Linked DNA regions of Homo sapiens: region 1 is linked to region 2. Evidence: promoter capture Hi-C in 16 types of primary human blood cells and fetal thymus (Javierre and others, 2016). All regions are on one chromosome and are shown on one strand. The core of a region is centred on a gene start or on the middle of the fragment in contact, and the rest is flanking DNA. Distances in the headings are between cores, read along the strand shown.

Evidence for each region. The method cuts DNA at HindIII sites, captures the fragments that hold promoters and counts their contacts. A CHiCAGO score of 5 or more calls a contact.
Region 1: a fragment that was not itself captured here is called in contact with the fragment with the promoter of MPEG1 in region 2 in 1 of 17 cell types (megakaryocytes); the score reaches 5.1 in megakaryocytes.

Annotation. Positions count from the first base shown.
Region 1 is chr11:59,680,249-59,685,629 of GRCh38, forward strand. No RefSeq gene overlaps it. Among named protein-coding and RNA genes, the nearest start is that of PATL1-DT, 14 kb to the left of the region's middle. RefSeq lists an enhancer at 130-630. The HindIII fragment of the contact is 3,207 bases long and covers 2,033-5,239 here.
Region 2 is chr11:59,211,328-59,216,393 of GRCh38, forward strand. It overlaps MPEG1 (macrophage expressed 1), which reads right to left and starts at 1,600. Exons shown (of 1, transcript NM_001039396.2): 1 at 1-1,600. The coding sequence starts at 1,538. It also overlaps the pseudogene RN7SL42P. RefSeq lists an enhancer at 1,577-1,776. The HindIII fragment of the contact is 5,135 bases long and covers 1,586-5,066 here.

The sequences.
Region 1 (5,381 bases), core at 2,386-4,885, 470 kb after region 2:
CTTGTGGCTCGTCTCCACCCCTCCTCAGCTGTGGTCCCAGCTTAGTACTACTTGCTGGGAAATTGCTTCCCAAAGGGAAAGTTGCCCATATCTCACAGGAGTTACCCATTCATCTGAGCCTCTGCAATGGGCTTTCCAGTCTCTGTCCAACAGCAGATTCTGAGACCCAGTCTCAAGTCTGGCCCCACACCCACCTAAGCCAATGGGATGGGTTTGCTGACCTCTGTTCCATGGGGGCCCTTGAGGGGGCCCAGTCTCAGCTCCAGCCCCTCTTTCCACATGTGGGGATTGTCCTGCCTGTGCAGGGAACTGCTGGGAGGGGTGTCTGTCCAGGCCACTGGGACAGTCTTCTGGGCTTGGGTCCCTGGCTAGCTTATCTATACAGCCTAGGTACCTTCCTTCAATCTTCCTCAGGTCCATCCTGGCTTGGGTGCTGTGTCAGCCTCAAAGCCCTTGCAAAACTTGTGATGAACCTGGGCTTAGGGCCCCCTCTAGTGCTGAAGTGGCTGCAACAGCCACAGGCTTAGGAATCACAAGTCAGGCTGCTTAGAACTTCTAGACAGGCCTATTGAAGTAAAACAGGCACAAACAAAGCCAGAATGCAAAGACTAGAATAAATACCTAATACACAGACATTGACGCACATCTGCAAGCATCCAGAATAAGCAGGGAAATTTGACCTCACCAAACAAAATAAGATGCCAGTGACTGACCCTAAAGGGAACTTCAAGAAAACACAGAGAAACAATTCAAAAATTTACCAGAGAAATTTAACAGAGATATTGCAATTAAAAAAAACCCAGAAATCTAGGAGCTAAAAAATACAATGAGTATTAAAAAATATTAGTAGAGAGCATCAATAGCAGAATTAAGCAGAGGAAAGAATCTGTGAACTTGAAGATAGGTTATTTGAAAATGGGAAAAGAGAGATCAGACTGTTACTGTGTCTATGTAGAAAAAAGTAAACTTAAGAGACTCTATTTTGTTCTGTACTAGGAGAAATTCTTCTGCCTTGAGATGCTGTTAATCTGTAACCCTAGCCCCAACCCTGTGCTTGCAGATAATTGTGCTGTGTTGACTCAAGGTGTAATGGATTTAGGGCTGTGCAGGATATGCTTTGTTAAAAAAGTGCTTAAAGGCAGTATGCTTGGTAAAAGTAATTACCGTTCTCTAATCTCGAGTACCCAGGGACACAATACACTGCGGAAGGCCGCAGGGACCTCTGCCTAGGAAAGCCAGGTATTGTCCAGGGTTTCTCCCCATGTGATAGCCTGAGATATGGCCTCGTGGGAAGGGAAAGACCTGAATGTCCCCCAGCCCGCCACCCATAAAGGGTCTGTGCTGAGGAGGATTAGTAAAAGAGGAAGGCCTCTTTGCAGTTGAGATAAGAGGAAGGCATCTGTCTCCTGCTCCTCCCTGGGAATGGAATATCTTGGTGTAAAACCCGATTTACTGAGATAGGAGAAAACTGTCTTCTGGCTGGAGGTGAGACATGCTGGCGGCAATACTGCTCTTTAATGCACCAAGATGTTTGTGTAAAGTCAAACAGAAATCTGGCCTATGTGAACATCAAGGCACAGCACCTTTCCTTAAACTTATTTATGACACAGAGATCTTTGCTCACATGTTTTCCTGCTGACCCTCTCCCCACCATTACCCTATATCCTGCCATATCCCCATCTCTGAGATGGCAGAGATAGTAATCAATAAATACTGAGGGAACTCAGAGACCAGTGCCGGTGCAGGTCCTCCGTATGCTGAGCGCCGGTCCCCTGGGCCCACTTTTCTTTCTCTATACTTTGTCTCTGTGTCGTATTTCTTTTCTCAGTCTCTCGTCCCACTTGAGGAGAAACACCCACAGGTTGTGGAGGGGCAGGCCACCACTTCAGAAAATATACTGTCATAGGAGAAACAAGAAAAAATAATGAAAAGGAATGAAGAAAGCTTATGGGATTTATAGGATAACATCAAAAGAGCTAATGTATGGGTCATTGGAATTCAAGGGGAAGTAGAGAAAGATAAAGGAGTAAAAAGCTTATTTAAAGAAATAATAGCAGAAAACTTTCCAAACCTAGAGAAAGATACAATTATCCAGGTACGAGAAAGTCATAGGCCACCAATCAAATTTAATCCTAATAAGACCACCCTAAGACATATTATGATAAAATTGTCAAAGGTAAATGTCAAAGACAGGATGCTGAAATCAGCAAGAGAAAGTAACAACATAAAAGGGACTTTTGCAATACACTTAGCAGCGGACTTCTCAGCAGAAACCTGGTAGGCCAGGAGAGAGTAGGATGATATATTCAAAGTACTAAAGGAAAAAAACACCCTGTCAACTGACAATAGTGTACCGAGCAAAGCTGTCCTTCAGAAATGAAGGAAAAATAAAAACTTACCCAAACAAACAAAAGTTGAGGAAGTTCATCACTACTAGGCCTGCCTTACAAAAAATGTTAAAGAGAGTTCTTCAAGCTGAAATGAAAGGATGCTAATGAGTAACATGAAAACATCTAAAAGTACAAAACTCACTGGTAAAAGTAAGTATATAGTAAAATTCAGAACATTCTGATACTGTAATGGCAGGGGGACCACTTATATCCTTAGTATTACGGGTAAAAAATAAGACTTTAAAAAATAATAAATGTAAAAATTAGCTGGACATGGTGGCACATGCCTGTAGTCCCAGCTACTCAGGAGGCAGAGGTGGCAGGATCACTTGAGCCTGGGAGGCAGAGGTTGTAGTGAGCCGAGATTATGCCACTATACTCTAGCCTGGGCAACAGAGTGAGACCTTGTCTCAAAATAATAACAACTAAAATACTTTTTAAGGGATTTCCAATATAAAATTATGTAAATTGTGACATCAGTAATCAAAGTTGTTATCTGTTTAGTATAACATGTTATGAATATGTTTTTGTAAACCTTATGGTAACCACAAAACAAAAACCTATGATCAATATACTAAAAATAAAAAGGAATCAAAACAGACTGCCAGGGAGAAACACTTAACCACAAAGGAAGACAGTAAGAGAGGAATAAAGAAAAGATATGCAATACAAACTAGAAAACAATTAACAAAATGACAGTAATAAGTTCTTACCTATCAATAATTACCTGAATGTAAAAGAATTAAACTCTCCAATTAAAACACATAAAATGGCTGAATCTATATATACATCTATATATCTATATCTATCTATCTATCTATCTATCTATCTATCTATCTATCTATCTATCTAAAACCCAACTACATGCTGCCTAACCCTAATGTTGCACCTCAAGGAACTAGAAGAGAACAAACTAAACCAAAAATGAGTAGAAGGAAAAAAAATGAATAGAAGGAAGGATATAATAAACATCAGAGCAGAAATAATGAAATAGAGACTAAAAAAATACAAAAGATCAACAAAAGTTTTTTGAAAAGATGAACAAATTGACAAACCTTTATATAGACTAAGAAAAAGAAAAGATTCAAATAAATGAAATCAAAAGTGAAAAAGGAGAAATTATAACTGATACCAGAGAATACAAAGAATCATAAGAGAATATTATCAACAATTATATGCTAATAAATTAGATAACCTAGAAAAATGGATACATTCCTGGGCACATATAGCTTACCAAGATTAAACTATTAAAAAAATAGAAAATCTGAATAGAACAATATTGAATAAGGAGACTCAATCAGTCATAAAAAGTCTCCTATCAAAGACAAGTCCATGACCTGATGGCCTTACTGCTGAATTCCCAACATTTAAAGAAGAATTAATAAAATTCTTCTGAAACCATTTCAAAAAATTGAAGAGGAGGGAATTCTTTCAAATTTGTTCTATGAAGCCAACATTACTCTAATTACAAAAACAGACAAGGACACAACAATAAAAAACTACAGGCCAATAACCTGGATGAAAATAGATACAAAAATCCTCAACAAAATACTAGTAAACAAATTCACTAGCACATTAAAAATATTCATTATGATCAAATGGGATACATCCCAGGAGTGCAAGGATGGTTCAGTGTATAAAATCAATAAATGTAAAATATTACATTAACAAAACGAACAATAAAATCCATATGGCCAATTCAACAGATGCAGGAAAAGATTCAACAAAATCCAACATCTCTTACTGATAAAAACTCTCAACAAATTAGGTATAGAAAAAATATAACTCAACACAATAAAGGGCATATTTGACAAACCCACAGCTAGCATCATACTGAATGGGGAAAAGCTGAAAGCGTTCAAGATGTGGAACAAGACAAGGATGCCCACTTTCACCACTTCTATTCAACATAGTACTGGAAATTGTAGCCAGAAGAGTTTGGCAAGAGAAAGAAATAAAAGTCATCCAAAGTGGGAATAAAGAAGTTAGATTTTACGTGTTTACAGATGACGTGATCTTGTATATACAAAATCCTAGAGGCTCCACCAAAAAACTACTAGAACTAATAAACAAACTCAGTAAAGTTGTGGGATACAAAATCAACATATAAAAATTAGTAGCATTTCTGTATGGTGATGGAAAACTATCTGAAATAGAAATCTAGAAAACAATCCTATTATAATAGCTGCACAAAATAAAATGCTTAGGAATAAATTTAACCAAAGAGGTGAAATATCTCTACAATGAAAACTGTGAAACACTGATGAAAGAAATTGAAGAATACACAAATGAATGGAAAGATATTCCATTTTTTTATGGACTAGAAGAATTAATATTGTTAAAATGTTTCTACTACCCAAAGCAATCTACCAATTCAGTGCAATTCCTATCAAAATACCAATGATATTCTTCATGGAAATAGAAAAAAAAAATTCTAAAATTTTTATGGAACCACAAAAGGCTCCAAATACCCAAAGCAACCCTGAGCAGAAAGGACAAAGTTTTGAAGGCATCATATTGCTTGACTTTAAAATATATTACAAAACTGTAGTAACCAAAATGGCATGGTATTGGCATAAACAGAAATATAGACCAATGGAACAGAATGAGACCCAGAAATAAATCCACACATTTGCAGCCAACTGATTTTCAACAAAGGTGCCAAGAACACACTTGGGAAAAGGATAATCTCTTCAATAAATGGTGCTGGGAAAATTCAGTATCTACATGTAGAAGAATGAAATTAGACCCTTATCTCTTACCATATAAAAAAATCAACTTAAGATGGATTAAAGAGTTCCACGTCAGCCTTGAGAATATAACATTATTAGAAGAAGGCCTGGGGGAAAAGCTTCATGACCTTTGTCTGGGCAATAATTTTTTTTAAAGAAAACCTCAAAAGCACAGGCAACAAAGGCAAAACATATTTACAAATGGGATCACAGCAAATGAAAAAATCATCTAAACAGCAAATGAAATGATCAAGAGTGA
Region 2 (5,066 bases), core at 350-2,849:
CATACCTTGAGGTTTTCAAAGAGTCTCAGTGGAAAGTAGCCGGCTGGGCATGACTGTGCATTTGTCATGGGGTTTATGCTCTTGCTGCTGAAGAGGCCCCCAAAAAGCAGTCCTGAGTTTTCAGGTACTTGGCTGCTGGCCACACACCAAAAAGCCCTAAATTCAGCTTTTGCCACCTGGAACACATCTTCACACACGGTCTTGCAGAAGACGAGGAGAGTGCACTTTCGATGACACTCCAGGTGGTTGTAACCCTCCTCGTGGATCTGGGATAACAGGTGCACCGGGGAGTAGCCAGAGGGGCAGGAGAAATCACCAGTGAGTGGATTCTTCTGCTCCAACTTTTGGCAGAGGAGGACATCCCTATTCCCTGAGAGCTGAGTGCATTCCTGATAAACCCCACCGAAAGAGAAGTTGGTCATTTTCCCCTCGCAGGAGCCATCATCCGTGTTGGCCTGAAAATTGAAGTTGGGAGAATTGAGATCTGTGCAGCCAGGGTAGGTGTTGAATGTATAATAGCGCTTCACAGCAGTTTCCACTGTCTTTGACACCTTCTTCACCAGGGGGCCTGGCAAGTCAGGTAGCATGTTGGGGTTGATGAAGAAATGCAGCGGCAGGCCAGAGCGGTCGATGGCCACCAGGTGGTTGGTGATACCCTGCTGCCAGGCCTGGAGGGTGATGCCTGGGTAAAAAGGAACCCCTCCAATGCTCTGCACCCTGGAGTTGGTTCGGTTTGAGAGGTAGCTCTTGGTGAGGACATTCTGCGAGGTATAGTTTTCCTCAAATTTGAAGTTCACGGTGTTTTGAAAGGCAAGTCCAGCAGAGGCGGTCACGGCACTACGACTGCTCTGGCTGTCTTGGAGGAAGGAGGCCCTGAGGTGGTCCTCCTGAATAAGAGCAGCCCCAGCGTCGACACTGGTGGTGACGTGGGTGCCATAGTTGAGCACCAGGAGTTCTGCCAGGTAGGTGGCCATCCTCGTCTGGTTGTTCTCTAGACGGTCAGAGATGTCAAGGAGTTCCTTCCTAAAACCTGAGCTTAGCTCTAAAGTTGGGTTGATTTTGACTGTGTAGACGAGGTTTCTTACCTGAACTCGGGTAGTTATAGCTTGGTCCTTCACTTGGAGGGTCTTCATCCTCTGGAACTCAGTGGAAAACTTGCCATTGACTTTGGAAAAAAGAGAGAGTTCTGTGTTGATGGAGTAGGAGGTGCTACTCTGGTAATTTGCCCAGGATTCCAGGATTTCTGAGTTCATCTCCAGGTTGCTCTGTTTCTGGGGAATGGTGAAGATTTCATCAGGGATGATATACTGTCCATCCTCTGTTGTCCTGCAGTTGGAGTAAGTCAATTCCATAACTCGTCCCATGTCCACATTCCGCAGATTGTCCCAGCCCCCTCCAGGTAGGACTTCCAGGACAGGTAGTTTCAAGGCATTCTTGCATTTTTGAACTCCAACTTCGTCCATCTCTCCCGAAGGCTTGCCTGATTTAGCCCATGCTGCCGCTGCCCAGAAGAGGATGGTGGCCCTGAAGTTGTTCATGGCTCAGACAGCCCCAGCCACTCACCAGCCCTACACAGCGGCCAGCAAGCTTTGGGCAAACTAAGATGGAGAAAACAGAAGCAGATGATGAAGCGGAAAACTCATGAGTTCTCTAAAAGCTACAAGTTCCTCTTTAAGCTAATTTAATGACAAAATGGGGAAACGAGAGTTGGTTGGAATATTAAAGACCATCAGGTCTTTGAAGAATTTATGCCGTACTAAACATGCAAACACACCCCTACATGCCTAACAGGTAGCTATCCTAATTTTTCCCCCAGCTCTGGCTGGTTACTCTGCTGCAGGGGTGTGCACTTAGAAAAAAATCCCGACCCCACACCCTACTGCTTCCTCCACCAGAAAGTTTGGCTTTGCTTTTTGCTCATTCTCTTGGACTTGATGTTTCATATTTTCCCTGACTGCTGTCTCTTGGGACTCCATTATCAGTTTTCTTTTACTATAAATGCAGAGGCAAATGACCACACCACCCTTACTGAAACACCCTGGCTCCACCATACCTATGCAAGCTGTTAGTCAAGGCCAACCCTGGGTTTCCTCTTTGCCTGAGGGTGGAGGCTGTTTCCACAAAAGAAAGGAGTGAAACTCTTGGACACTTGTCCTGTGGGTTTCACTGTTATGAACCATAGCAATTCTGTCTTTGGGGATGGCATTGTCTGGAGCACAGCTGACAGGGCCTGAAGAGGATTCGGTTGCAATATGCTGGGAAACCCCAATTTGCATTGTCCTAAGCATTCAAAGCGAGGGCAAGGAACTCCTACACTGTGTTGTTTTCATTCAGATAGAAATGTTCAAGACAAAACCACACTATTATCTAGATTTTGATTTATCAACAGCAGACAGGGGCCAAGGAACATATGTGTATGTGTACACACATTTATATATCCTCTGTGTGTGTGCATTTTGTATGAAGTTGGTACCTGTTATACCTTTAATTTTTTGTTCCATTGCTAAGTGTGTGTAATCAGTTTAGGTGGATAAAAAAGAATGTGGCTCTTCACTACCCAATATTTTTTCTAAAAGCAAAAATTCATTTGCTATATCATTAGAAGAATATAATTACATGAGTTTCTTTTCAAGTTCCAATGCCAGCTCTATTAGAGCCCATAATTTAAAACAATGGTGACAGGTTTGATTGAAACCCAACTCTGTTAATTCTTTGGGACAATTAGGCTATGTCTTAGTATGCTTAGTGGTAGCCAGGGAATCCAGAGGACTTAGTGAAGCTCCCAGTTGCATCCTTAACATTCCCAAGATTATACCATGAACTAGATACAGTACTGAGACTGAAAAAGTCATGTTGCAATTCACAGGTATCACTACACCATCACCTGTATGCATCCTGGAAGGAAGGTTCCAAGGAGTTGAATTCCTCTGTTGGTTATTAATGCAGCAAAGAAGTGTTTTTAGAAAGAATGAGGCTAGTTATCTTGCTTCCCAGGCTGGGCTTCACCAGTTATTATCAAAACCATGATGGTGTTCTATAAATCTAGAAATACTGCATTCCGGGTATATTTTTTTTTCCAAGACAGGGTCTTGCTTATTGCCCAGGCTTGAGTGCAGTAGCTATTCACAGGCATGGTCCCACTACTAATCAGCATAGGAGTTTTGACCTGCTCCATTTCCAACCTGGACCCGTTTAGCCCTCCTTAGGCAACCTGGTGATTTGCTCCAAGGAGGCCACCATATTGATGCTGAGCTTAGTGCAGACACCCAACTGGCATAGCACACTACAGCCCAGAACTCATGGATTCAAGCAATCCTCCCACATCAGCTTCCCAGGAATCTGGGACTGCAGTCATGCACCACCACACCTGGCCATTCTGGTTCTATTTGTGCCACAGTTATCATGCTTCTGGGAAGTGACACCAGCCACCTAAGAGGGATTAATTTATGAACCAGTGCCTAGTCTGTATTTGGCTAAAGAACCAAATCTTTGCACAGGATGTTCTAGTTAATTTATAAATCAGTTAGCCATAAATTTATACCTCAGCAGCATGATCCCAGAATTAGAAAAATGAGAGTTGAATGCCCTTGAGTACTTCCAATAAGTCTGTTGAAATACCTACATACTTCTCTTCAAACTATTTCTGGGATGGTTCATCAAAATTAGAATACTCTCACACTGCTTTGGAGACAAGCTGACAATTTGTTACCCTCTGCTTTCTCTTTAGTAGACCCTGTTGAGAGCTCACTCTCCTGAAATGAGAATACAAGCAAGGTTAATACAGACAATTCTATATTCAGGTGTTCCTATGTCTCCAGACGTCTAGTCACTGTATTTTTTATTCTATAGACTTTGTCTTCATTTTATCATAGGAAAAAAAAATTGAAAATAGCAGAAAGAGCCAACAACGGTAAAATTACATTGTACCCATAAGACAAAATATTGTATAGCCATCACAATTATTTAAAACTATTTTAATAACATGAGAAATTCTTATGCCATAATGTTACTGGAAAGGGTTCCCAATGCAGACCTCAAGAGAGAGTTCTTGGACTTTGTGCAAGAAGGACCAGGGCAAGTCCACAGAGTAAGGTGAAAGTAAGTTTATTAGAGAAGTAAAGAAACAAAAGAATGGCTACTCCATAGGCAGAGCAGAAGTATGTGCTGCTTGATTAAGGATACTTATCATTATTTCTTAATTATATGCTAAACAAGGGGTGGATTAATCATGAGTTTTCTGGGAAAGAGGTGGGCAATTCCCAGAACTAAGGGTTCCTCTCCTTTTTAGACTATACAGGGTAACTTCTGGAAATTGGCAGTCATGGCACTGGTGGAAACATCTTTTAGCATGCGAATGCACTACAATTAGTGTATAATGAACAATGAGGATGACCAGAGTTCACTCTTGTCGCCATCTTAGTTTTGGTGGGTTTTGGCTGCCTTCTTTACTGCATGCTCTTTTATCAGAAAGATCTTTGTGATCTGTATCTGTATCTTATGCCAATCTTCTATCTCATCCCATGACTTAGAATACTTAACCCTCTGGGAATGCAGCCCAGCCTTCTTTTACCCAGCCCCTATTCGAGATGGAGTTATTCTGGTTCAAATATCTCTGACAATAATGTTATGAAAAAAAAGAATGATAAACATTCAGCATGACCCCAACTATGTACATAACTAGAGGGATGTACGCCAATGCATAGACAGTAATTACATCTGGTTGAGAGGTTTTTCTAAATTATTTTAATTTTTTCCTCTTTTCTGTGTTTTTTGAGTTTTCAACAATGAGCATGTATTTATTAACTCGAGAAATTTGTATTCAGAGCCTATTAAGTACCAAACACTGATGGGTATTGGGTAATCATCACTTTTGTGCTCAGGAAAATAACCAATGCACAACCATGTAAAAAAAAAACAAAAGAAACAGGCCAGGCAGGGTGGCTCATGCCTGTAATCCCAGCACTTTGGGAATCCGAGGTGGATGGATCACTTGAGGCCGGGAGTTCAAGACCAGCCTGGCCAACATGGAGAAACCACATCTCTACTAAAAATACAAAAAAATTAGC